Linked DNA regions of Homo sapiens: regions 2, 3, 4, 5, 6 and 7 are each linked to region 1. Evidence: promoter capture Hi-C in 16 types of primary human blood cells and fetal thymus (Javierre and others, 2016). All regions are on one chromosome and are shown on one strand. The core of a region is centred on a gene start or on the middle of the fragment in contact, and the rest is flanking DNA. Distances in the headings are between cores, read along the strand shown. Region 1 holds the start of GATA6-AS1 (GATA6 antisense RNA 1 (head to head)). Region 2 overlaps LOC124904265 (a long non-coding RNA gene). Region 3 overlaps LOC124904265 (a long non-coding RNA gene). Region 4 has its middle 170 kb from the start of CTAGE1. Region 5 has its middle 230 kb from the start of CTAGE1. Region 6 has its middle 63 kb from the start of CTAGE1. Region 7 overlaps LOC124904262 (a long non-coding RNA gene).

Region 1 (3,598 bases), core at 1,099-3,598:
CAATAACTTTTAAGAGCTGTCCGCGTACTTTGGACACTAGTGGGGGCCTTCTCCCCAGCTCTTGGGTTTCTCCCTAGTTTGGGGTGCACCTCTTCCCTCCAAACTTCCTAATTTGCCGGCCTTCCAGACCAGCTGGGGCGCGCCCAGGAAGCTCCACGCGCGGGTCTGGGGCTCATGGGAGTGGCTTTGAAAACATGCTTGTCTTCCCCAGAGCGGTCCCTAGCGCCAAAGATGCATTGGGGAAAAGGCACATTGGAGACGTCAGGCAGCCTGGTTTTCTGTCTGAATCAACTGTACGAGTTAAACAGTTTTATTTCGAAATTAACCAACATAAACAACAACAACAACAACAACATTCACTACCCATTCCCTCGTTAGGTTGGAAAACCAGTCTGAAAAAATAAATACAATCTGTGACCATGAAAAGGAGCAATCACTTATTTTTCCCATATGTTTTGAACATTATTTTTAAAAATAGATTGGGAATCTGGAGGGTAAAATGCCGGGTCCCTTCCCGAGCCCTTAGAGCCCGAACGTTGTCGAATCGGTCAATGTCCACCCCGCTGCTCACCTCTGTCCCAGCAGCGCCGGGGCCAGCGCGCCCTCCCGCCGCGTCTGCGGAGCTGCGGGAAAAGCAGGTCCCCGGGGGGTATCGAGTGTCCAGGGATATCCACGCAGACATCCTTGTACTTGCAAATACAAAGAAACACACAGGACAGAGATCAGGCTCGCGCCAGGGCTCGATCTCCTCGGGGCTCAGGGTTGGAGGCCGTACACAGCCTGGACACAAACTGAGCCAAAGAGTTTATTTTTAGCAAATAAGATATGAGTTTTTAGAAAATTGCTTCGAATAGCAAATCCGAGAAACATTATTTCAAAACGTTGGAATCAAAGGAAATCAAATGCCCACAACCCATTTCCGTCAGTGCTTACAAATGAGCTTCTGCAAAACCCAGTCCACTTAAACATTTGGTCGGAACTCACGAAAAGAACCAAAAGCAAGGCATTCCGAGTCCTGGCGGGGGTTGAGCGGCCGGGCGGACGCCTGGCTATCTCTTCTGGGAGTCGCGCATTCGATCGCATTCAGGTTAAAATTTAAAGCCCCTGGATCCTGCTCCAGTCGCCAGCCTCTCCATTCCAGAGTTTTCTACCTTCAGCCTTTTCCAAATGCGGCCACGCTGAAACTGGGAGCCGCCGCAGTGATTGGGGGAGGCAAAGTGGAACGTAATAAAAGTGACTAAATTGGATGAGAACGGTTTCTGGACCTTCTCGGTAGCAATTTAAAATTCAGAAGTGTTTAGAAGCAATTTACAACGAAGAATGAAAAACGAAGAATTCTCGCCAACTTCCTGAATTCCTTGCCCCCTCCCCCGCACTGCCAGGCCCTGTCCCGCTCCCCCAGGAGCCACAAGTTCACAACTCACAGTTACGTGCAGAGGAAACAACGCTTAGCTACGAGGTCTCACCATCTCTGGAAACCATACTTTACAAGGCACCTCTCCACCCCAGTTCAACTCTGCACAGGCTCCTCTTCCTTCCCTAACTGGGAAAACACGAAAATAGAAACAAAACAAAAAACCAGAGCCTAAACGCTTTCTAGGAGACCGACCTTCAGAAAATCATTTACTTGGATTTACCTGGGCGGGGGGTAGGGGGTGGGGTCGGGGTAAAGTATAAAAATTCATTCTCACAAAAACAACGCCTCTTGTCCTAAAGTCTCCCTCGGCAGCCTTCTGGGGTCACGTCTGTCGGAAGAAATCCTTTCTGTAAGCGAAAGGGAGCGAGACATATATCACGGCTCCTGCAGCGGACGAGCCTGCGGCCGCGCGAGTTGCCGCTGACAGATCGGCGCTGATAACCCCGCGACGTTCATTTCCAGTCCCTTTTGCCCGCTAGGGACCGTATCAGTTTGTACAGAGTTGTGATAACTGTTTGGAGGGAGCGAAGAGGGGGTGTGTATATGAACGTGGGGGTGGGGAAGCAGCATTTAGCGCTGGGTCCAGGGAAGGTGACACCCCCTCTTCGCAGTGACTTATCTGTGACTTACCTGAAACTCTCCAGGGAAATATCAGAAACTCTCCAGGGACATCAAAAGTTGGAGAGCGTCCTCGGACACGACTGATGTGGAAGCCCTTTTCCATTCTGCGTACCCCATAGACTACCTTTCCGTACATGACGACCCGAGTTAAAGTTCCCAAAGGTCAGCTGGGGAATGTTGTCTTGAGGTTCCCGAAACCACCACGACCTGAGCCGTAGCATCCCGAGATAGGGTCGGAGAAAGTTTAAGGTCGGTCTCACACAACTTCAGGGCAAAAAGCGCATTTGCTGTGAAGGGGCTAGGCGGGGGTTGGGGGGCGGGGGGGCGCAGAGCACGTTCCCCCTTCCTTCTGGGGGCGTGCTGACCCAAGGTCTGGAGCGCCCCTCCCGCCGCGGCGGCGGCGCGGGACTGTGCACTGCCAACTCCTCCCGTGCCAAGGCTCCCTCCCCCTCCCTCGTGTGGGTGTGTGTGTGCGACTGCGGGAGCGGGAGGGTGCACCGCCGCTGGATGGGTGCGGGTCGCTAGCCAGGTCAGGCGTTCTGTGGCCTCCGCCCCTCCCCCGGGGTCCCTGGGCTCGGTGCCCCCCGGGTGGACTCGCCCCCACTCCGGGGACAGGGCTTGCGGCTCAGCCCACGCCCGCAGGCAGCGCGGCTCTCATTGTCTGCCTGGGCGGCGCGCTCCCCTCCCCCCTCGCCGTCCCCTCCCCACCCTCTTTTCTCTCCTCCCCTCGATCCCTCCTCCTCCTCTTCACCTCCAGCGCCCAGCTGCTCGCTGAGCGCAGTTCCGACCCACAGCCTGGCACCCTTCGGCGAGCGCTGTTTGTTTAGGGCTCGGTGAGTCCAATCAGGAGCCCAGGCTGCAGTTTTCCGGCAGAGCAGTAAGAGGCGCCTCCTCTCTCCTTTTTATTCACCAGCAGCGCGGCGCAGACCCCGGACTCGCGCTCGCCCGCTGGCGCCCTCGGCTTCTCTCCGCGCCTGGGAGCACCCTCCGCCGCGGCCGTTCTCCATGCGCAGCGCCCGCCCGAGGTTCGGCTGCTTCCTCCTCGCGCGATCTCCCCGCTTTCCTCCCCTCCACCCCTACTCGTCGCGGGCCCCTGGCCTCCGGCTCTCCGGCCCTCTCCAGGCCGCGGTCGGCTCCGACGGTGTTTCCCTCCTTCCCTCCGGGCGGGCTGAGGCGGCTCCCAGGCTCCCGGGACACCGCGGACCAACTTCTAGTCTCTTTTTCTCTCCTCGAAGCGCTTATCTGCGCGCAGCCTTATCTCCGAGTTATCTCGGCGCAAAGGGGCGGGAGCCGGTAGTTAGGCAGGCAGAGAAACTTCTTTCTTGCTATCTAGCCAGGTCTGTGTGTGGGCATTAATTTTAGTGTGGTAATCTCCGATGAGCCGAGGCGATTTGGAAGAGCAGCCTGGAGGAGGCCAGCCCGGCTGCATTTCACCTCCCTCCCCCACTCGCTCCGAGTCTCCCTGTCATTCTTCCTGCTCTCCCATTTGGGGTCGCCTCGGCTCTGGGGCGGTCTCACGCTCCCCCCTCCCCAGCCCGTTGCGTTCCCCCTCCTTTTCTC
Region 2 (3,557 bases), core at 820-3,319, 380 kb after region 1:
CTGAAGGATGACCTGGTTAGCAAAGGACAAATACTAGCACTCCCAAAAAATAATTAAGTCTTTGGACCCTTTTCTGCAAACACAAATCTGTGTGAGGTTTTCTGGAGCAAATGCTGTAGGCTACATTCCAAAGGCCAAGAAGAAAAATACCACGCTGGTCAGTCACCCATGCTGTCTCCATAAATAGCACCATGCATTTCTGAAGCAATGAGCGATGTTAGACAATCCTCTTTATGGTACCAGTGGGACAGTGGCTTTAAGGGCCATGGATATGACAAAGAAAACAAGGGATGGACAGAGGGCGAAATCAGTCAGATCACAGTATGTTGGTTAAGTCACTTAATTACGCTGGAGCTCCATTATTCTCCGTTTTAAAGTTAGGCTGGCTCAGTGTGGTGGCTCACACCTGTAATCCCAGCACTTTGGGAGGCCAAGGCAGGAGGATCTCTTGAGCCCAGGAGTTCGAGACCAGCCTGGACAACAAAGTGAGAACCTGCCTCTACAAAAAATTTATTTTAAATAGCTGAGTGTGGTGGTGTGCACCTGTGGTCCCAGCTATTTGGGAGGCTAATGTGGGAGGATCGCTTGAGCCCAGGAAGTTGAGGGTGCAGTGAGCCATGATTGTGCCACTGCAACCCAGGCTGGGTGATACAGTGAGACCATGTCTCAACAAATAAAATAAAAAGGTTCAGCTGATACTGATAACTCTGTTCCATAAGGTAGTCCACTTAACCAGAGCCCATTTATCGAGAGCCTGCCATGTGCAGAGTCCTGCATAAAGGCTGGTGGTGAGATTGAATAGAATCGTGTAGTGAAGACACAGCCAAGCTGCTGCCTCATCAAAGGCTCTCCCTAAACGTTGGGTGACTGTGGGAAGTGGTTGGGGAAAGAGGACACATTAGGCCTGGGTTCTTTTAAAATGTGGATATTCGTTCAGGTTCTTTAAATAGTTATTGAAACTATTAAAAATTACTTTCTTCCACAGGAATAATGATTGAGCACCAGAAACAGACAAGCGAGGTCCTGGGAATAGAGCATAAACACAGGAAAAGCAAACTCCATTCTGGCTTGGGGGGACCTTGACTAAGCTTTGACAAATGTGCACAGACTCCCAAGAGGATCCAAGCCTTCAAATCCAGGTTCAAACAGGTAAAGAGTGGAGGGGCAAGGTGCCAGTTAAGTTGGGGGAAAGGCGATGAAAGGGGCAGATTAATATATTACAAGGAAAACTATAGGAGAATTCCTGGGAACAAACTAGCAGACATGTTTATCCTGCAAGAAGCCTGGGTGATTTGAGCGTTTGGCTGGAGGGAGGGGAAGAAGGAGCTAGCATTAATCATGCTCCCAAATTCAACTCCAGCATCTAACGAAATAGACAATAACTGGTTTCGCCACTCCTGTTCCTCACATCCCCTGGGGTCAAGGCCTGGCTGGAATTCAAACAGGATTTCAGATCGGGCCTGGAAAGTTGTGTACATTTAAGTTCATTCTGGAAGGCATGCTTGATATAGAAATGGATTTTTCTTGGTCTAATTTTGAGAGGATCTGAACTTAGTGAGAGTAAGTGGGTGCTTTAAATAATCTCCTACTCTTTTTTTCTTAAGAGGAGAATTTATCGCAGAGACTGGCCAATGGCACTGACCACACCTATTTCAAGTCCTAGCTTGGAACATAGATTTTTTGTGTTTTTAATGGAAAAATAGAAGTCCTTGTAAACTACCATTTACCTTTCATTTGCCTCTTCCTCATGTTGTGTGATTTCTTTTGGCATCATAGTGCTCCCCTAAAGGGTCCACCAAGGTGAACTTGGCTAGGCAGTGCTTCAAAACACCCCATCGGTGGAGATTAAGGATGACAGGTCAAAACCAATGCCACTCTTGGGCTGCCTGGCATGCACCTAGGAAATCAGGCACACCCATGCTGAAATAAGGAATCGACTTTGCTCAGGAAGAGTCATCTATGCATTTCTTCTTTCGGTGATATATGTAGTAGGGGTCAAGGGTGGGGACCGAATTTGGAGAGAGCAGGAGAGAAGGGCTGGAGGGGTGGATGAGATGGCAGACAGGGGAAGTAAACTAAGGGTAAACCAGAACATCCCATGACACCAGTTATGAGGAGACTCGCTAGTGCTGAAGTTTCTGCTGTGCCAAAGACGCCTGTTTCAGGATGAGTCCAATTTTAGCCCAGGAGAAATAAATCAACTATAGGGCAAAAGGTTTAATGAGTAAAATGTATCATTCCAAAAATGTGATGCAGTCCACATCCAAAGTTTCTAGGTCAAATAACATGAGGAACTAATGCAGAAAAAGAAAGCAGCTGCCTGGGCGTGGTGGCACGGGTCCCAGCACCAGGTCCTCACACCACATCCTTGTACCACATCCTCCCAACCTCCTACCACTGGGGTCCTGCCCAGCCAGGAGGCAATGGGAGGGAAACCCAGCCTTGCAATTCTTTAATTTTGGGGAAAGTGAGGTGGGGAGTTTCTGACTTGTATATCCTTTAATTAAAGGGAATCTGACCTCTTCTATGATGATAATAATAATAAAATGTCTCAGAAGAGAATGGGAGCGTGCAAGAGAGTTATGCATTATGCACAAGACAGCAGGGCTTGGAACAGTAAAATCTTGTTTGCTCACGCGGCTCTGAGTAACCTAAGGGGGAAAAAACTCAGAACATTATTGATTAGATGCCAATTCACATGGCTCTCTTTGTCTGCTTTTTATTATCAGTATTTCTTTAAAAGGTTAATAGATCCTGGTCCTGACAAGCGTGAAGCCAGGAGGTGGGCTCTTATCCAGTGTTTTCATTCTTCAGCCCTCAAGAGACAATGATTAGATCTTAATATTGAATGCACAAACCACACTCACTGTGTGAACTTTCTGAGAGAGCTCCCCACCTAAAGACAGAAGAAGTGAAGAAGTTTTATTGGAAGGATTGTCAAAGGCGGGGGGCGGGGAACACTTTGAGTCTCTTTGAGCCAGTTGATTAGGGGTGAGTTGATTTTCTTATGAACACTCTAAATCTACTCTCCCTGGGGGCAGGGAAACCTGAGAAGCTTGGATTTCAATGATTTAATTCCCCTTCTAAGAATAGCCAAAACTGGGGTGGAGAGAAGCTAATGAAGTCAACCACAGAAAGAACATTTGCAAATTGAGCAAAGCCCTGTGAATCTTAGGTAATAGCTGGGAGCCGAGTTTCTTTCTTCCACATCTCATAAACTACAAAATAACTCAGCAAAACATGTCAACCAATGGATGCTCTCCACAGGTTACATGATCTAAAGCTGAGATACAAGAAGCCAAACACAATTAAAACGTGCTTCCATTGGTAGGTTCATGGTGATGCTTTGCAGAGGTATCACCTAACCTACCAAGCTTTGGACATGCTTTATTCATTACAACACTGTCAAGATTAAGTTGCCACGACTTCATATCCCAGTTCATGAATTGCATCTACATACACCATATAATGAGCCTCACCAGTGTACGGAATGTGGACAGGTCTTCCCTTAATGCTGGGATTAATTAGTTAGTCTCTGGATGTGCCCTTGAGGTTTA
Region 3 (3,310 bases), core at 341-2,840, 400 kb after region 1:
AATGTTTCACAAAATTAACAGGTTTGGTTCATTAAAAAACGCTATTTGACACAACTTTTCTTCATTTAAGTGGCTAAAAGCACTATATACATTTTTCTTAAGATCCATAGATCTAATTTATTAGCTCTATAATCTAATAAATGCACTGTGAAGAAAGAAAAGAATGGTAAGTTTTATTGGCTCAATGTAGAAAATAAAAATCATAGGCTGGAATAGAATAATGTTGAGCCTGAAGTTAATCTTCCAGACAATCTAATCTAGGCTTGACAAATACATGGAGTCAGGATAGGCACTTTCTTAGTTACTGTTTAAGGCAGACATAACTAATCAATCTCCAGACATAACTAATCAATCTCAGCAATTTCTAATTGAACACAGACATATACAGTCTCATAATTCTTCTTAAAACAGAGCTCTGGGTAGCCTCTACCATTCACTGAAGTTGGTGCATGTAAAGAAACTATTTGCTATAGCTGGTATTCTCACTCCTTTAATATATATGCATGTGGAGGATGAAAAGCATGCAGTGACCTACTTGATCATTGTCACCCAGCTAGTAAATGAAAGCATTAGCGTTATAACCCTGATTATCTTTGCATGACCCCAGTCAAACTCGTAAAGTTATGGCATGTGTGACATTCAGCTGATTGCAATTGAGTACCTGCAATTCCAAGTTTAGCAATTATGATGCTCCTGGAAAGAGTTTCTATTACCAACTTTATAATTTCCATTGAGAAAGAAGTGAAATAAGGAAAACATTCTTATGGCTTATGGTTATGTATGAGTTCCTTTATTGTTCATAAAGGAGATTATCTTTATTCATAATTTAAAGGAGAATGTTAAAACATTTACTGCATACAAAATTATTATTAGGCTATGGCTGCTATTTAAATGTAATGCCCTTAGAAACAGGGAATAAAATATAAAGAGATTGAGGCAAAAGAGCTCTTTTGCATTAAATCTTGTTTGTTACAACAAAAATTCACAATATACCACAAGTGCAGTTTATAACTATTTACCTTCATATTAAAGTGATGATGACAGTAAGAGTCTTTGGATTTAATAATGTCTTACTCCACCTATTAAGACAGTGTAATTATCTAGTTTTAAGTTTGATATAATATCCATAGATATTATAGCGATGGATATATATCCATCACTCTGTTCAACTCATGAGTAAAAGCAAAACACAGAAATTAGGTGCCTGCTAGTAAAAGTCTCCAAAAGAAAAAAAGTAGAAACCACTCTTGGTTGATAGTCATTTATTCACCTTATGTCAATGAAGACTTCTACTAACACATGATGTTTCTAGACTTTCTTCTTTCAAATATAGCTTTAAAACAATTTTTGTCACTATAATTCACACACATTATTTAAAAATCAGATTGTGCTAAGAAGCTTTTAATAAAAAACAGCAGCTACTCCATTCTCCCTCCCCTTTACACACACTCGCGTGCACACACACACAGAGACACTGTTTCTCTCTCTCTCTCTCTAAAACCCTGAAGGCAACCACTTTCAACTTTTTTAGCTGTTTATTTTGATATTTACTTCTGTATTTCTAATGAACATACTTATATTACTTGATTTATCTATTTGGACATTATCTGTTATGGTGAACAACATTTCAGTTCTTCTACATACCCCTTTTCCTTTCCTTTCTACTACCTCAATTTTTTGTTCACTCCCTAATCAACGTTCATTATTATGACTATGAACATGTTGTTTCCTATATTGCTGGGCTTTCCAGCAAAGTCGTGTTTTATGATTTAATTTTTCTTGCAAAGCTTTTTGTTTTTCTTGGAGTTAATAGTTGTCTCGTATTCTCATTCACTTAGGGGTCTGTTTTTTTTTTCACCCCTGCCAAATCTTTTCACACACCCCAACAGTTTTGTAAAGGGCCTCTCAATACAATTTTCCAGAGTCAAATCTAGAAATTGTTCTGTCAGTTTCATTTTGTTTTTCTGGAGTCATCCCTTATCCACCTGCTTCAGTTTGCCTAGCTGCTCTGTAGGTCTCCTGCACAGCTATTGTCCTGGTATTTCCCCTGGCACCTCCGCGGTATTAGATCCCTTCTTTCCAGGATTCCACATCTTCTCTTTTCTTGGCATACTCTCTTCTCTTTTCTTTGCATACTCCCTTATATTCCCTTGGTGTCGCATCCTTTGAGAGCTTCCTGAGAAAAAAAATGCATGGGACATAACTTTTTCTGAGACTTTCCATATCTGAAAATATCTTTATTCAACCCTCAAAGTTGATTGATAGTTTCACTGGGTATCAAATTTAAGTTAAAATATTATTTTTATTGAGAACATGAAGTCATTGCTCATTGTCTTCCAGCTTTCAGTGGTGCAAATGGAAAGGTCACTGCCCTTATTCCTGATGTTTTGCAGATGATGCTTTACTCTATCTTTGGAAATGTTTAGAATATTATTTTATTCCCTGTATTCCAAGTTTCAAAATGATGTGCCATAGCATGAGTCTTCTCTTAATTCACTGGTTTGACACTTGGAAGGCTCCGGTTGCTTAGTTATTAAAAAAATGTATATAGAGATAATTTGCACCTGTTTTGTTTCTTTCCATAATGCTCATTAGTATGGTATTGAATTGATTCTTTAATTTTCTCATCTTTTCCCTTTTGTTTTTCATCTCTGTGTTTTTATTCTACTTTCTGGAAGAGTTCCTTCACTTTGTCTCTGACCTTTTAACGGAATATTTTATTTCTGCTATCATATTTTTAATTGACTACAACTCTTGTTCTTTTTATATCTCCCTCATCTGTTTCATGGATACCATGTCTCTGAGAGTATTATAGTTTGCTTTTAAGAAGTTTTCTTCTCCTCTTGCAATGTCTGTCTCCTTCAAGCTCCTTTGCTTTCCTGTGTATTTTGGACACTGTCTTTCCTGGTGCAGGCTTCCCTCAATGCCATTTGTTGCTAGCTGTCTAATTCTATTTAAGAATGAGGCACTGAACACCTGACTGAGACCTCTGTGGGAAGCAGTGCCTCGCTGTGGAATGACTGGGCATCACTGCATTGTGGTCAGGTACTCCCATGCAACTGTACCTTCACATCCCTCCTGCAGGTGGTTCAAGGTACCCGAAGAAGGCTATTCCAAGGTCTTAGCTGTGGGTGAAGGCCTGGCCACGTTCTGAGATGGTGGGAAAGAGGACTGGGGTGGTGTACTCTTCGTTCCTAGCTTTCCTTTCCCTCAGCCCATCTCTACCTGCTTTGTGCCAATTGGCCACAAATTCAGAGCTTTCTGATTCAATCTCTTCAGGGCCTAAACTCCTGTCTCCTGTTGAGGGTGG
Region 4 (3,135 bases), core at 537-3,036, 420 kb after region 1:
CAAGAAGAACAGCTAATGCATGCTGGGCTTAATACCTAAGTGATGGGTTGATAGGTGCAGCAAACCACCATGGCACATGTTTATCTATGTAACAAACTTGCACATCCTGCACATATACCCTAGAATTTAAAAAAGAAAAAAAAGAATTCTAAGTTAAAGAATTAGAAAACATAGAAAAAAATAAAGCTTATCATTAAATGTAACTGCTAATTCTTTGCAACATAAATACAATGAATAACCTGTTAGCTAATCTATTCAAGATACGTGGAAGAAAGGACAAATAACAATTTAAATATCATAAAAGTGAAACAAACCACAAAAACCAAGTAAACTAAAAGAATCCAAAGAAACCACATTGCCCATGACTAAAAAACACATTTGAAAAACAAAAGGAAATGAAATGTTTTCATAAAGAAATGTAGTTTACAAAAACTGACACCAGAAGAGATGAAAGATCTAAGCAGACCAATTACCATAAAGGAAATATAGCAAGTTGCAAAAGAACTTTACCTTCATCCAATTCCCTAATCCCCCAATATCTCACCCAAGAAAGCACCAGGTCTAGACAGTTTCAGAGGAAAATTTTTCCAAGGCTTTCAGAAATAGATTACTTCAATGCTATTTAAATGGTTTCAGAACTTAGAAGGAGCACTTCCAAATTATTTTCATAAATCTAGCATAAAATCAGTATCAAAAACTAACAAAAATAACACACAACCAAAAACTACAGATAAATCTCAGATATGAGTATAAATGGAAATATTCTAAATAAAACATCAGTGAATAAAATCTAGCCACTTAACAGAGAAACACAACATAAACTAAGTAGATGTATTCCAGGAATGTAAAGATGTTTCAACATCAGCAAGTTTATCAGTTTAATTAGCAGCATTCATAGATCAAAAGAGGAAAATTGTATAACCATCTTCATAGGTACTGACAAGGTATTTAAGATTACTGTAAAAACAGCTGGAACTCTTATACACCTGGTGGTAGTAAAAATCTGCACAGCCACTTTGGGAAACGGACAGTATCTACAAAACTGAACATATACATACCCTATTATCTCTTAGGGTTAAGCCACAATAAATACATACATATGTTCAGTAAAAGACTTGTACCAGAATGATCATAACAACTGAAAGCTGAAAACAACCAAACATCCATCAACAGTGGAAGGGAGAAAAAAGTTATGGTATATTTCTACAATACCCTACAAACACTATTAAAGTGAGCAAACTTTGGCTACATACAGCATGGATCCATCTCATTGACATGATGTTGAGCAAAAGAATATATACTGCATAATTCCATCTATACAGAATGCAAAACAAGACAAAACTAATATATAGTTTTAGGAGTCAGGATAATGCTTACTTTTGGGGAGGCTATTACCTGGGAGGGGCTGTGTGGGGCTGTGTAGGAGCTTCTGGGATACTGATGATGCTCTCTTTTCTCACCTGGTTGTTGGGTTACACAGGTTCTCCACCTTATGAATCACAATACCAATGACTTGTGCACTTTTCTACATGCATTTCTACACTTTAAGATAAAGTATACTTTAAAAAAAAAAACAAAGATACTTTTGAACCCCTCGTGCTCCAGATAAGACCACCCTTTCCTTCTTCTCCTTGTTCCTGCTCACCATAGACAGGAATCAAAAGAAGGCCCAAGGCTTTGCCTGTTTGTGGCCATGCTTCCCACTCCATCCCCACCCTCCCTACAACTCTCAGAGCCTCACCGCCAGTATAGGCCGAAAGACCATCAGAAACAATTTCATTACACCTTTATGTGTTCACATCCATCGCCACAAGAAGCCCAGGACCCACAAGCTATCTCTCATCCCCTGTACTCTAACTTTCTTTCTGACCCTGTGTCTCATCCCTCTCCAACTGCTGAAACCTTTACACTGTTCCCTCTATGGCTCTTGGACAGTCTCCAGCAAAATCCTCAAACCCTCAGCTTCTTCTCTGAAAGTCCCCTTCAGTTTTTGCTCTAAAAGGACCTGAGGACCCTGCAGCCCTCTCCTGGTGGGACACTTTCTCCCCACATCCTTCTACCATGAGGCATATGGTGAGCTAGGGGTTCTCCTAGCTCTGTGTTGTCATTTCTTTTTTTTTCTTTTTTTTTTTTTCTTTGAGATGGAGTTTTGCTCTGTCGCCCAGGCTGGAGTGCAGTGGCGCGATCTCGGCTCACTGCAACCTCCGCCTCCCGGGTTCAAGCAATTCTCCTGCCTCAGCCTCCTGAGTAGCTGGGATTACTGGTGCCCGCCACCATGACCAGCTAATTTTTGTATTTTTAGTAGAGACGGGGTTTCACCATGTTGGTCAGGCTGGTCTCGAACCCCTGACCTCGTGATCCACCCGCCTCAGCCTCCCAAAGTGCTGGGATTACAGGCGTGAGCCACCGCGCCTGGCCTGTGTTGTCATTTCTTCTTCTGTCTTCTGTCTTCCCTGAAACTCCCAGCCTAGAATGTCTTGTTTTCAGGCTTTAACACCCTTCTCATTGTTGCATTTGCCTACCACTCCTGGTCACAAATATCCTGATGTTTTTCCTTTTCCCTTGCTGTCACTTCTTTAATATGCCCATCATAATTATTGATGTTTCAAGAGCCACAAAGATGATCCTTTCAACATCTTGGCCATTCTGTTCCTCCACCTCCCCTCATCCAGTGATCTTCTCCCTCTGTCCTCAGACACTCACCCTCATGGTAACACCCTAGACTTTCTAAACACCTTAACAGCACCTCCTCCAGCACCACAGTTTTAAGGATGGCCACTCTCTGACCACTACCTCTAGTCTTTTTGGCTTCACTCTCTCTATTATTTTTACTTTACCACTTTTTTATCTCCTTCACTGAGACCTACAAAACAGGGAGAAAGATGCATGTATTGAACAAAATACCGGTGGGTTTGAATAATGAACAGAATACCTGTAGCTCCATGTCTATAACCAGGACAGACTTAAATATATACAGGCATTAATAAATCTAGGAAGGAAGGACAATTTCAAATGGTGGCTTTTTTCCTAGATTCAAGAATATGTTGTTTTTTAACTGACTGTATATTTAGTGAGAAATTTAGTAGTATGATATCATAGTGGTTCAAATTTTGAATCTCTTTTTGAGAGAAAAGG
Region 5 (3,227 bases), core at 486-2,985, 480 kb after region 1:
CATCATCTCCCTCAAATTCACTGTCTTCATATGTATGATGATAGCTTTAAACCAGATCATGTCTAAAGTTCCATCCAACTTGAAAATCCATGATTATATGAAACCAGACTACAAGTGGCCCTTGAATAACATGGGTTTGAACTGTGTGCATCCACTTATAAGCAGATTTTTTTAAATAAATATACTGGAAAAATTTTTGCAGATTTGTGACAATTTCAAAAAACTCACAGACAAAAAGCAGAGCTTAGAAATATCAAAAAGATTAAGAAAAAAGGTACGTCACAAATGCACAAAATATATGTAGATATTAGTTTATCACTTACTACCATAAAATATATACGAATTTATTATAAAATGTTAAAACTTACCAAAACTTAGGTACACAAACACTCTACATGGCACCATTCACATAAATATAAAGATGTAGTATTAAATCATAACTGCATAAAGCTAACCATGCTACACACTGTACTACTGTAATAATTTCATAGCCACCTCCTGTTGCTGTTGAGATGAGCTCAAGTGTTGCAAGTATCCACTTAAAACCCTGTGTGACACTAATCATCTTTGCGTGAACAGTTCATCTCTCCAGTATACTGCGTTACCACAGTAAAAAGTGATCTCTCAAAGTTCTAGGTATCTTTCATTGTGTTTAGTGCAATATTGTAAACCTTGAATAATACCATGGGATCCATATGTAGTGCCACTAGCCATGCTGGAAATGCTCCCAAGAACAGAGAAAAGTCATAACATTACAAGAAAAGTCATAACATTACAAGAAAACGTTGAACTGCTTGATATATTACTGTAGAATGAGGTCTGCCGCTGCACTTGCCCACCATCTCAGACAGACAATTCGTCTTGTAAACAGATGATGTAAACTTACTACTGTGATTACTACAGTACAGTACCGTAACTGTATTTTATCTTCCTTATGATTTTCTTTCTTTCTTTTTTTTTGAGACGGAGTCTTGCTCTGTTGCCAGGCTGCAGTGCAGTGGCGCGATCTCGGCTCACTGCAACCTCCGCTTCCCGGGTTCAAGCAATACTCCGGCATCAGCCTCCCAAGTAGCTGGGACTACAGGCAAGCACCACCACGCCCAGTTAATTTTTGTGCTTTTAGTAGAGACGGGGTTTCACCATGTTGGCCAGAATGGTCTAGATCTCTTGACCTCGTGATTCGCCCGCCTCGGCCTCCCAAAGTGCTGGGATTACAGGCGTGAGCCACCGTGCCCGGCCCTTATGATTTTCTTAATAACATTTTCTATTCTGTAGCTTACTTTATTGTAAGAATACAGTATATAATACCTATACAAAATATATGTTAATCGACTGTTTATGTTATTAGCAAGGCTTCTGGTCAACAGTAGGCTATCAGTAGTTAATTTCTGAAGGAGTCAAAAGTTATACGTGGATTTTCAACTGCGTGGGGGGTCAGCACCAAAATCTTAAGTTGTTCAGGGGTCAACTAACTGTACTTTGAAAACTGAATAGGAAGAAAGAGCCTACATTTTTCCTTACAGAGAAATGCCAAGACTTTTGTTAACTTTCAAACTGGAGGAATGCTAACTGTCATAGCTGAGATCTGGGAAAATTTTAACTTATGCCAAAGTCAAGCTTCTACATAATTATTTTTAAAGTGAGGATAATTTTTCTACTTGAGACAACCTAGCACAGTGACAGAATAAGAAGATAGAAAATGTGTCACTATTTACTCTTGCTGAATGTAAATCCATAACTTAACTGAAGAGTAGGTGAAATGCATTACCTTCCCAGGGAAGAACTCAAATCTCTTTCCTGAGAATCATTCCCTTTCTGCAAGAATTCTATGAAAGAATTATATACAATAGAATAAAAGCTTATTATTTATTTACTAAATCAAAGTTGCCTGGATCATTATTACACATTTATCAGAAAAAGTCATAAATTTTCTGCTTAGAGATTTTACACTTAGCCGGGCGCGGTGGCTCACGCCTGTAATCCCAGCACTTTCGGAGGCTGAGGTGGGCAGATCACAAGGTCAGGAGTTCCAGACCAGCCTGGCCAATATGGTGAAACCCCATCTCTACTATAAATATAAAAATTAGCCGGGCATGGTGGCGCGTGCCTGTAGTCCCAGCTACTCAGGAGGCTGAGGCAGGAGAATTGCTTGAACCCAGGAGGCGGAGGTTGCAGTAAGCCGAGATCGCGCCACTGTACTCTAGCCGGGGCAACAGAGTGAGACGCTGTCTCAAAAAAAAAAAAAAAAGAGATTTTACACTTTATAATAGAATTAAAATACTCAGAATTGGAATAACTCTAAAAATGAATACAAGTAATTTAAAGGAAAATATGTACTGGATTTAGTCAATAAAGTAGTATAAAAATATACAAGCTACAGGTAGGTGCTGTAGTTTAAAATTAAGCATCTTGGTATTTGTTAATTGTGTCCTTGGAAGGCATCTTTTATATCAGCCTGACTAAAATGATCTACCACCCTTTGCTCTCTCTTTAAACAAATACAGTGAGTTTACTTCCTCACACTTTGATACAAATTTCTCTATTCCGGTGAATATGGATGTCTATTTTTTCTTTCTTGGTAAGCAGAAAGAAGTCTGAATCACAATTCAAAATGCAATTTTAGTTTAAGTCGAAAATGGGGGGACTACTAATTATATGGGCAATAGTATTATGATGTGCTAAGAATGCCATCAAAACTTCTGTCTGCATATATATTATATATGCATATATTTGTGCATTAATTATATAATAGAAATAACATATACTGTGTGTTATCTATTATCTATTTTCTATCATCTCCACTTTAACTTAAGACATAAGTACAGATTAATTAATAACCCTTAGCAAATTAATTAAAATGGGAATTCTTTTCACGAAGTCACATATATCTAAAGTTGTAAGGACCAACATACATGTTGGTTTCAGTGTTAATCTTTTCCTTTAAAGATCAAGTATGATTACCGTTTGGAAATTAATTTTAGGCAGCTATTTGACTAATATCATAGCTGACTCAGCTAAGAAAGAAAAGAGCAAGAATTGAGAAGCCTCATTCAATATTGACTGCAAACTGTGGCAATGCTAGAGTTCCTAACAAAAATCATCTATGTAAAGTTTGGTTACACAAACTGGCTAACAAGCTGGTAGGGACAGCTTAAATTTGCAGTATGTGTACACTAGTTTATCATAACCTCAATTGAATAATGTACACTCTCTAACCCCCCCCAAAA
Region 6 (3,497 bases), core at 894-3,393, 310 kb after region 1:
CACATGAAACATTCTCCAGGATAGACCATATGTTAGCACACAAGAAAAGTCTCAACAAATTTTTAAAAATTGATATCAAATTAAATATCTTCTCAGACTACAATGGAATAAAACTAGAAATTAATAACAAGAGGAACTTTGGAAACTGTACAAATACATGGAAATTAAACAACATGCTCCTGAATGACCAATGGGTCAAAGAAGAAATTGAGAGGAAAATAAAAAAGATTACTGGAACAGATGAAAATAGAAACATGACATACCAAAACCTATCAGATACAACAAACGCATTGTGAAGACAGGATTCACAGCAATAAACTCCTACATTTAAAAAGTAGAAAGATTTCAAATAAACAATTTAATGATGCACCTGAAATAACTAGAAAAGCAAGAACAAACCAAACCCAAAATTAATAGCAGGACAAAAATAATACAGATCAGAGCAGAACTAAACAAAATAGAGACTAAAATACAATATCAAAAATCAGTTAAATGAAGAGTTAGTTTTTTGAAAAGATAAACAAGATCAATAAACTCCTAACTAGATTAATCAGAAAAAAGAGAGAAGACCCAAATAAACCAAACTAGAAACAAAAAAGAAGACATTACAAGTGATACCACAGAAATACAAAAGATCATCAAACGTTGTTATAAACAACTATACACTAACAAACTGGAAAATTTAGAGGAAATGGATCTATTTCTGGACACATACAGCCTACCAAGATTGAATCAGGAAAGAATAAAAAGCCTGAACAGACCAATAATGAGTAGAAAAATTGAATCAGTAATAAAAATTCTTCCAAAAAAACAAAAGCTCAGGACCAGATAAATTCACTGCTGAATTCTACCAAACTTACAAAGAACTGATACCAATTCTCCTCAAACTGTTACAAAAAAATTAAAAAAGAAGGGATTCTCCCTATCTCAATCTATAATGCCAGCACCACCCTGATACAAAACCAGACCAGGATGTGACAAAAAAGAAAACTACAGGCCAATATCCCTGATGAACATAGAGACAAAAATCCTCAACAAATTACTAGCAAACAAAATGCAACAGCATATCAAAAAGACAATACACCATGATCAAGTGGGATTTATCCCAGGTTGCAAGGATGGCTCAACATATGCAAATCAATAAATGTGATACATTACATCAACAGATGAAGGACAAAATCCACATGATCATCTCAACAGACACAGAAAACAACATTTATTAACATCCAATATAACTTCATTAAAATCTTTCAATAAACTAGGCATAGAAGGAGCATATCTCAACATAACAGCTATATATGACAAACCCACAGCTAACATGGGGAAAAACTAAAAGATTTTCTTCTAAGAACTGAAAAGAGACAAGAACGCCTACTTTCACTACTCCTATTCAACACAATATTGGAAGTCCTAGCCAAAGAAATCAGGCAAGAAAGAAAAATACAAGGCATCCAAATTTGAAAAGAGGAAGTAAATTGTCCCTCTTTGCTGATGATACGATTTTATATCTAGAAAACCAAAAAGCTCTTAGAGGTAATAAATAAATTCAGCAAAGTTGCAGAATACAAAATCAACAAACAAAAATCAGTAGTGTTTCTATACCCCCATAATGAATTAGATGAAAAAGATATCAGGAAGGTAATTCTATCTACAATAGCTACAGAAAAAACTAACTAAAAGCCTAGGAATAAATTTAACTAGTTAAGTGAAATATTTCTACAAGGAAAACTGCAAAACACTAATGAAAGAAATTAAAGAGAACACAAACAAATAGAAAGACATCCCATGTTCTTGGGTTGGAATAATTAATATCATTAAAATGACCATACTACCCAAACACATCTACAGATTCAATGCAGTCTCTATCAAAATACCATTGTCATTTTTCACAAAAATAGAAAAAAAATCCTAAAACTTCTATGGAACCAAAAAAGAGACCAAATAGACAAAACAATCTTGAGTAAAAAGAATAAAGCTGAAGGCATCATACCACCTAACTTCAAAATATGTTACAAGACTATAGTAACCAAAACAGCATGATATTGATATCAAAACAGACACATGGACCAGCAGAAAAGAGTAAAGAACCAGAAATAAATTGATGTATTTGCAGCCAATTGACTTTCAACAAAGGCACCAAGGACATACATTGGAGAAAGGACACTCTATTCAATAAATATTGCTGGAAAAACTGGATAGCCACATGCTGAAGAATGAAACTAGATCTCTGTCTCTCACCATAGATACAAAAAAATAAACTCAAGATGAATTAGACTTAAATGTAAGACTTAAAACTATAAAACTGCTAGATGAGTACTTGGGGGAAACACTTTAAGACATCGGTCTAGGCAAAGATTTTATGGCTAAGACTTCAAAAGCACAGACAACAGAACCAAAAATAGACAAAAAGGACTATATTAAACTAAAAAGTTTCTGCACAGCAAAGGAAACAATAAACAGAGTGAAGAGACAACCTATAAAATGGGAGAAAATATTTGCAAATTATAAATCAAACAAGGGACTAATATCCAGAATATACAAGAAATGCAAACAACTCAACAGAAAATAAACAAATAAACTCATAAAAAGTGGCCAAATGACATGAATAGACATTTCTTAAAAGAAAACATTAAATAACCAACAGGTATATTTTTAAATGCTCAACATCACTAATCATTAGGGAAATGCAAATCAAACAATAATGAGATATTATCTTACTCCAGTTAGAATGGCTATTATTAAAAAGACAAAAATGAACAGTTGTTGGTGAGAAAGTAAAGAAAAGGAAATTCTTATACACTATTGGTAAATGTAAATCAGTACAGCCACTATGAAAAGCAGTATGGAAATTTCTCAAAAAACTAAAAATAGAACTACGTGATCCAGCAACCTCACTACTGGATATTTATCCAAAGGAAAGGAAATGAGTATATCAAAGGGATAGCTACACCCCATGTTTTTGGCAGCACTATTCACAACAGCAAAGTTATGGAATCAACCTAAGTGTCCATCAGTGGACAAATGGATAAAGAAAATGTGGTATATATATGCAATGGAATACTATTTGGCAATAAAAAAGAATAAAATCATGTCATTTGCAGCAACATGGATGTAACTAGAGGTCGTTATCTTAAGTGAAATAAGCCAGAAAGACAAATATTGCATATTGTCACTTATATATGGGAGCTTAAAAGGTTAATCTCATGAATGTAGACAGTAGAATGATAGCTACTGAGGTAGGAGGCAGAAATGACTCCCAAGGCAGGGCTAAGGCACCAGACCAAATTGAGGACTAGCTAAAACAGGTCTGTGGCAAAAGCAGCTTTCTGTAAGACATATACACTAGTATGTCATGTCAGTTTACCATTGCCATGGCAACACCTGGTAGTTACTGCCCCTCTCCATGGTGACAACCCAGAAATTACTATCCTCATTCTAGAAATTTCTGCATAAACTGCCCCTTAATTTGCATATATTAAAGTGGGTATAGATATGAG
Region 7 (3,638 bases), core at 105-2,604, 440 kb after region 1:
TGAGCTGGTGTACATCAGGACCCCCTTTGAAGACCCAGTTCACCGTCTCTTACCGGGAAACTTCTTAGCCCCCAGAAAAATCCAAACACAAACAGCTGGCTGGAGGCTGGATGAGAAAGGAGTATCCTGACTCCACCCCCAAGACCCGTCCTGCCTCAGCCTGGCCCCAGCAGAGATGCTGTCTACAGTTGGTAGAATCCATCTCCTTCTTCAAATGCTTTTAAGGAAGCCACATTGTGGAAGGCAGTGAGAAGATCTCTTGCTCTCGCTTCCTGTACCTACAGTAGAGCCTTGGCATTATGTGAGGTGGAAGGAACTTGGACCCTGGAGTTTGAGTAAACAATACTCCAGCAACAACTTTGCCACCTGCTCACAGTGAGACCTGGGCAAGAGCTCTCTGAAGCTACTTTCTCACAGGGAGATGGGAAAGACTCGTCCTCGCCCTTGGGGTTGTTTTGAGGGTTAAATGGAAAACCTAAGATAAAGAACCTAATACAATGCCTTGCACATAGTTGGCATCTGATAATTCTTAGTTCTTATTTTTAATATATTTTTTGACTTGTGCCAGAGTGTACCATGTGGATGTTAGAGGCATTGAAAGGAGGTTTCTGGAATTGCATAACAAGCTTATCAATTACAAAAATATTTCCTTGCTATTCATTAAGTCCTAAAAAAGAAATATAAGCAATATGAAATTGTTTACATTATGAAATAACAACAGATATAACTGAATAATTTGTAAAGCAAAATTAAAATCATCCTATTCAATGTGCAGAAAAGTGGGGGAAAGGTGGGGAAGAGAACTTACATTATTCAGGTACCTATTATGTGCTATTCATATTGGCACATAATAGGTGCCTGAATATTTGGCAAGCAATATGCCAAGATTTTTGCTGTGTTCCTTAAAGGTCACATTATGGCAAGGACACTGAAGCTCTCTAGATTAGATCTCTAGAAAATAATAAACGTCATTCTTTCTTCTTCTGTCACCTTCCTGTGTGTGTCTAAGACTCAGGCTTAATTGTCTACTTCCTATATAAATTCAGTTCCATGCCATGTCCCATGCCCTGCTGGCTTTATCCCAGACATGAAGTGCCCTGGCTTACTCAGAAAGATGAGTGCAGGCCCCTCTTCCTTGGCTTCTACCTAAGGCCAGCAGAACTCCTGAGCCTGTGCTCTAGGGGAGGAGCAGGGCTGGGGTACACTGAAGGTATTCTGACGCCTGCTTTACTTGTCACTGTTGCTTCCCTTCCAGTAATTTCCAAGGCAGCTTTCTTGGAAAAGAAACCTGCTTTAATTAAGAACCCCTGGAAATTCTGAGCAATGTTCTACTTAAACCTAGCAAAACCCTACTTGCAACAGAGAACAGGGGAGAAAGGGTGGGTAGGAGGACTGATGGAAATGGCTCCACATGATTTGATTCTGTGACCTTCAAAGTCTGAAAAAGAAAATCAGGTTGATTCATAAACAACTAGGGACTAAAATACTTCTGGCTTCCTTTTATTGTACTTCTGGGAACCAACCGATTATGTTTAGAACTCTGGGTGACTGGAAGGGTTTTGTTGCTTTTTTTTAAAGCTGGTCCTGAAACCATAATCAGTTTTCTAGGCTGTTCATTTTGGCATGTGCAGGTTGAACTTTTGTCACTCAATCACAAAGGCATGGAAGATGTTCAGTTTCAAAGAAGGAAGCCAATCCGTGACCAAGGCCACCAAATCCAACACCAAAAACAAACACAAAGGGCTGCATTCCCACACGTCACCACTGGCCCATTTCCAGAGCAGATCCTGACGGATGAGAGGCAGCAGGGAGGAGATGCTGGCTTGCTGCAGGGTTTAGCAGTTAATCTCAGGTGGCTGAAGCATGCCTTGTGCTTCAACCGAAAGGACTGAGACACGGAGATATTAAACAAAGCCTGTGTAACCCTTAAACAAACAGAGAAGGGAGCCAAGAATTGCTGTAGTCATAATCCCTTATTCTACAGCATCCACGGTGTTCAAGGCATCTTCATCAACAGTATGTGTTTTGATTGATTCCTCATTATAATCCAAGCAGTTATTATTAATATTTAGCCCCATTTCTCAAAGCTTTGTGGCTGAAAGACTGCCAGGACCGACGTTCTTTCTAGAAAAAAAAAATAGGTATTCTAAAAACAATTAGAGAAAACTTTAGACATCCCTCCCACAAAAGAGAAACTTTCCCCACCCATGCTGCAGGTCCAGAAATGTGCCCACTGCCATTATCCTTCTAAAACACATGCACACAAGTACTGAAGAGTAATTGTTTTTTATACTTTGTTTCTTAATCTAATGCTTTATACAAGGTCAAAACTTGAAAGATCATCTACAAGGTCTATTAAAAAACACTTTCTTCTCATTTTTGGGTTCTACTAAATTTGGAAATCCAATTTAAAGCCAATAGGTAAGGGAATAATATAGTTTCACACACTTATAATTTTATCTCATCTGCAAAGAAACTTCAAAACTAAATTCCATCCTGGAGTGGAATAACATATGCTTGCCCGTCAGCTATTTGCTAACTCTGTCTAATTTTCAGAAAAAAAGGGTGTTGTTCTGTTTCTAGATGTTTTATTCTGTAGTGTATATAAGGTTGCAATGTATTTAAAAATTTTTTTGGAAATAGATGTGGTATAAATCTTACATAAATAATGACAATTAAGATCTCCAAGAATAATATTATTTTATAGCTAGAGGTTTGGATTAACAGGCAAGAAAACAAAAACAAGAGTTTTCTACCAATGCGCAGGAATTTTGTGTTTTAATTTTCTCATCTACAAGAGGTGGTGCAACAGCGCTGTCCTGGGAGGCAAAGGACCAGGAGTCCAGTCTTCCTATGCTTATACCACATGCAACTTCCAGCAATGCATTCAATCTCTGAATAGTGTCCATCAAATGGGGACTAAAGACACCTTATCTATTTAAAAACAAGGAGTTGGATCAATTTGCTTATAGTTCTTTTATTTCTTAAGATCTATGGATCCTTCCTCAAAACATTTAGCTCTAAAACAATCTTGTAGATTAGGTCAAATGCAAACCACAAAACCATGTCTAGTAGCTTTTTAACAATCAAACCTCCACATGATTTTGCACTGATGCTAGAGAGAGTGAAGAAGGTGGCAGTCTTTCTGTCCAGTTCTCATAAACTATTGCTATTTCTAATAAAGTAACCTAAGCACCTGCTGTGGATAAGGCCCCAGGAAAGAAAAGTTTGCTGCCTCTAGACTAATAAAGAGAACTGACCATTGATCTTAGAGAAATGTTAATTTCCAAGCGAGTATTTTTTAAAACTCCTCCTTTGCTTTTATGTTTCCTAGGTTACCATAAATAGAACCTACACACTTTATTTGTACCATCTTAATGTCTTCGATTGAAGTGCTGTGTCCTTATCCTAGATTCTTAGCTAGTCTCCTAGCTCCTGGAGGAAAGCATCTATTTCTTACTCACCTTTATATCCTACATGACGCTCAACTCAGTGCCCTGCCTGCAGCAGGGACATAGAAAAGGTTGAACTGATTGACCTGACTTCCTAATTACCCAGCTGACTCTTTAGCTTTTGCTAAATGTTTCTTAGTCCTAATTAAGAGCCAAAGCATTAGCTGGGTACGGTGGCTCACGCCT

What was found. The method cuts DNA at HindIII sites, captures the fragments that hold promoters and counts their contacts. A CHiCAGO score of 5 or more calls a contact.
Region 2: a fragment that was not itself captured here is called in contact with the fragment with the promoter of GATA6-AS1 in region 1 in 2 of 17 cell types (total CD8 T cells and endothelial precursors); the score reaches 5.8 in total CD8 T cells.
Region 3: a contact is called between a fragment that was not itself captured here and the fragment with the promoter of GATA6-AS1 in region 1, in 4 of 17 cell types (endothelial precursors, total CD8 T cells, megakaryocytes and 1 more). The highest score is 12.5, in endothelial precursors.
Region 4: a fragment that was not itself captured here is called in contact with the fragment with the promoter of GATA6-AS1 in region 1 in 1 of 17 cell types (endothelial precursors); the score reaches 6.4 in endothelial precursors.
Region 5: a fragment that was not itself captured here is called in contact with the fragment with the promoter of GATA6-AS1 in region 1 in 1 of 17 cell types (endothelial precursors); the score reaches 5.0 in endothelial precursors.
Region 6: a contact is called between a fragment that was not itself captured here and the fragment with the promoter of GATA6-AS1 in region 1, in 1 of 17 cell types (megakaryocytes). The highest score is 5.1, in megakaryocytes.
Region 7: a contact is called between a fragment that was not itself captured here and the fragment with the promoter of GATA6-AS1 in region 1, in 1 of 17 cell types (endothelial precursors). The highest score is 6.2, in endothelial precursors.

The regions. Positions count from the first base shown.
Region 1 is chr18:22,166,620-22,170,217 of GRCh38, forward strand. GATA6-AS1 (GATA6 antisense RNA 1 (head to head)) reads right to left here and starts at 2,349. Exons shown (of 2, transcript NR_102763.1): 1 at 2,048-2,349; 2 at 279-1,764. It overlaps GATA6 (GATA binding protein 6), which reads left to right and starts at 2,970. Exons shown (of 7, transcript NM_005257.6): 1 at 2,970-3,063. RefSeq lists an enhancer at 615-1,118. The HindIII fragment of the contact is 8,900 bases long and covers 1-3,598 here.
Region 2 is chr18:22,542,573-22,546,129 of GRCh38, forward strand. LOC124904265 (a long non-coding RNA gene) reads left to right here. Exons shown (of 3, transcript XR_007066310.1): 2 at 986-1,149. Among named protein-coding and RNA genes, the nearest start is that of CTAGE1, 130 kb to the left of the region's middle. The HindIII fragment of the contact is 1,967 bases long and covers 1,087-3,053 here.
Region 3 is chr18:22,567,667-22,570,976 of GRCh38, forward strand. The region is part of intron 2 of LOC124904265 (a long non-coding RNA gene); the gene reads left to right. Among named protein-coding and RNA genes, the nearest start is that of CTAGE1, 150 kb to the left of the region's middle. The HindIII fragment of the contact is 389 bases long and covers 1,397-1,785 here.
Region 4 is chr18:22,587,952-22,591,086 of GRCh38, forward strand. No RefSeq gene overlaps it. Among named protein-coding and RNA genes, the nearest start is that of CTAGE1, 170 kb to the left of the region's middle. The HindIII fragment of the contact is 3,205 bases long and covers 185-3,135 here.
Region 5 is chr18:22,644,127-22,647,353 of GRCh38, forward strand. No RefSeq gene overlaps it. Among named protein-coding and RNA genes, the nearest start is that of CTAGE1, 230 kb to the left of the region's middle. The HindIII fragment of the contact is 241 bases long and covers 1,616-1,856 here.
Region 6 is chr18:22,478,873-22,482,369 of GRCh38, forward strand. No RefSeq gene overlaps it. Among named protein-coding and RNA genes, the nearest start is that of CTAGE1, 63 kb to the left of the region's middle. The HindIII fragment of the contact is 6,192 bases long and covers 1-3,497 here.
Region 7 is chr18:22,608,070-22,611,707 of GRCh38, forward strand. It overlaps LOC124904262 (a long non-coding RNA gene), which reads right to left. Exons shown (of 2, transcript XR_007066307.1): 2 at 1,485-2,124. Among named protein-coding and RNA genes, the nearest start is that of CTAGE1, 190 kb to the left of the region's middle. The HindIII fragment of the contact is 1,461 bases long and covers 625-2,085 here.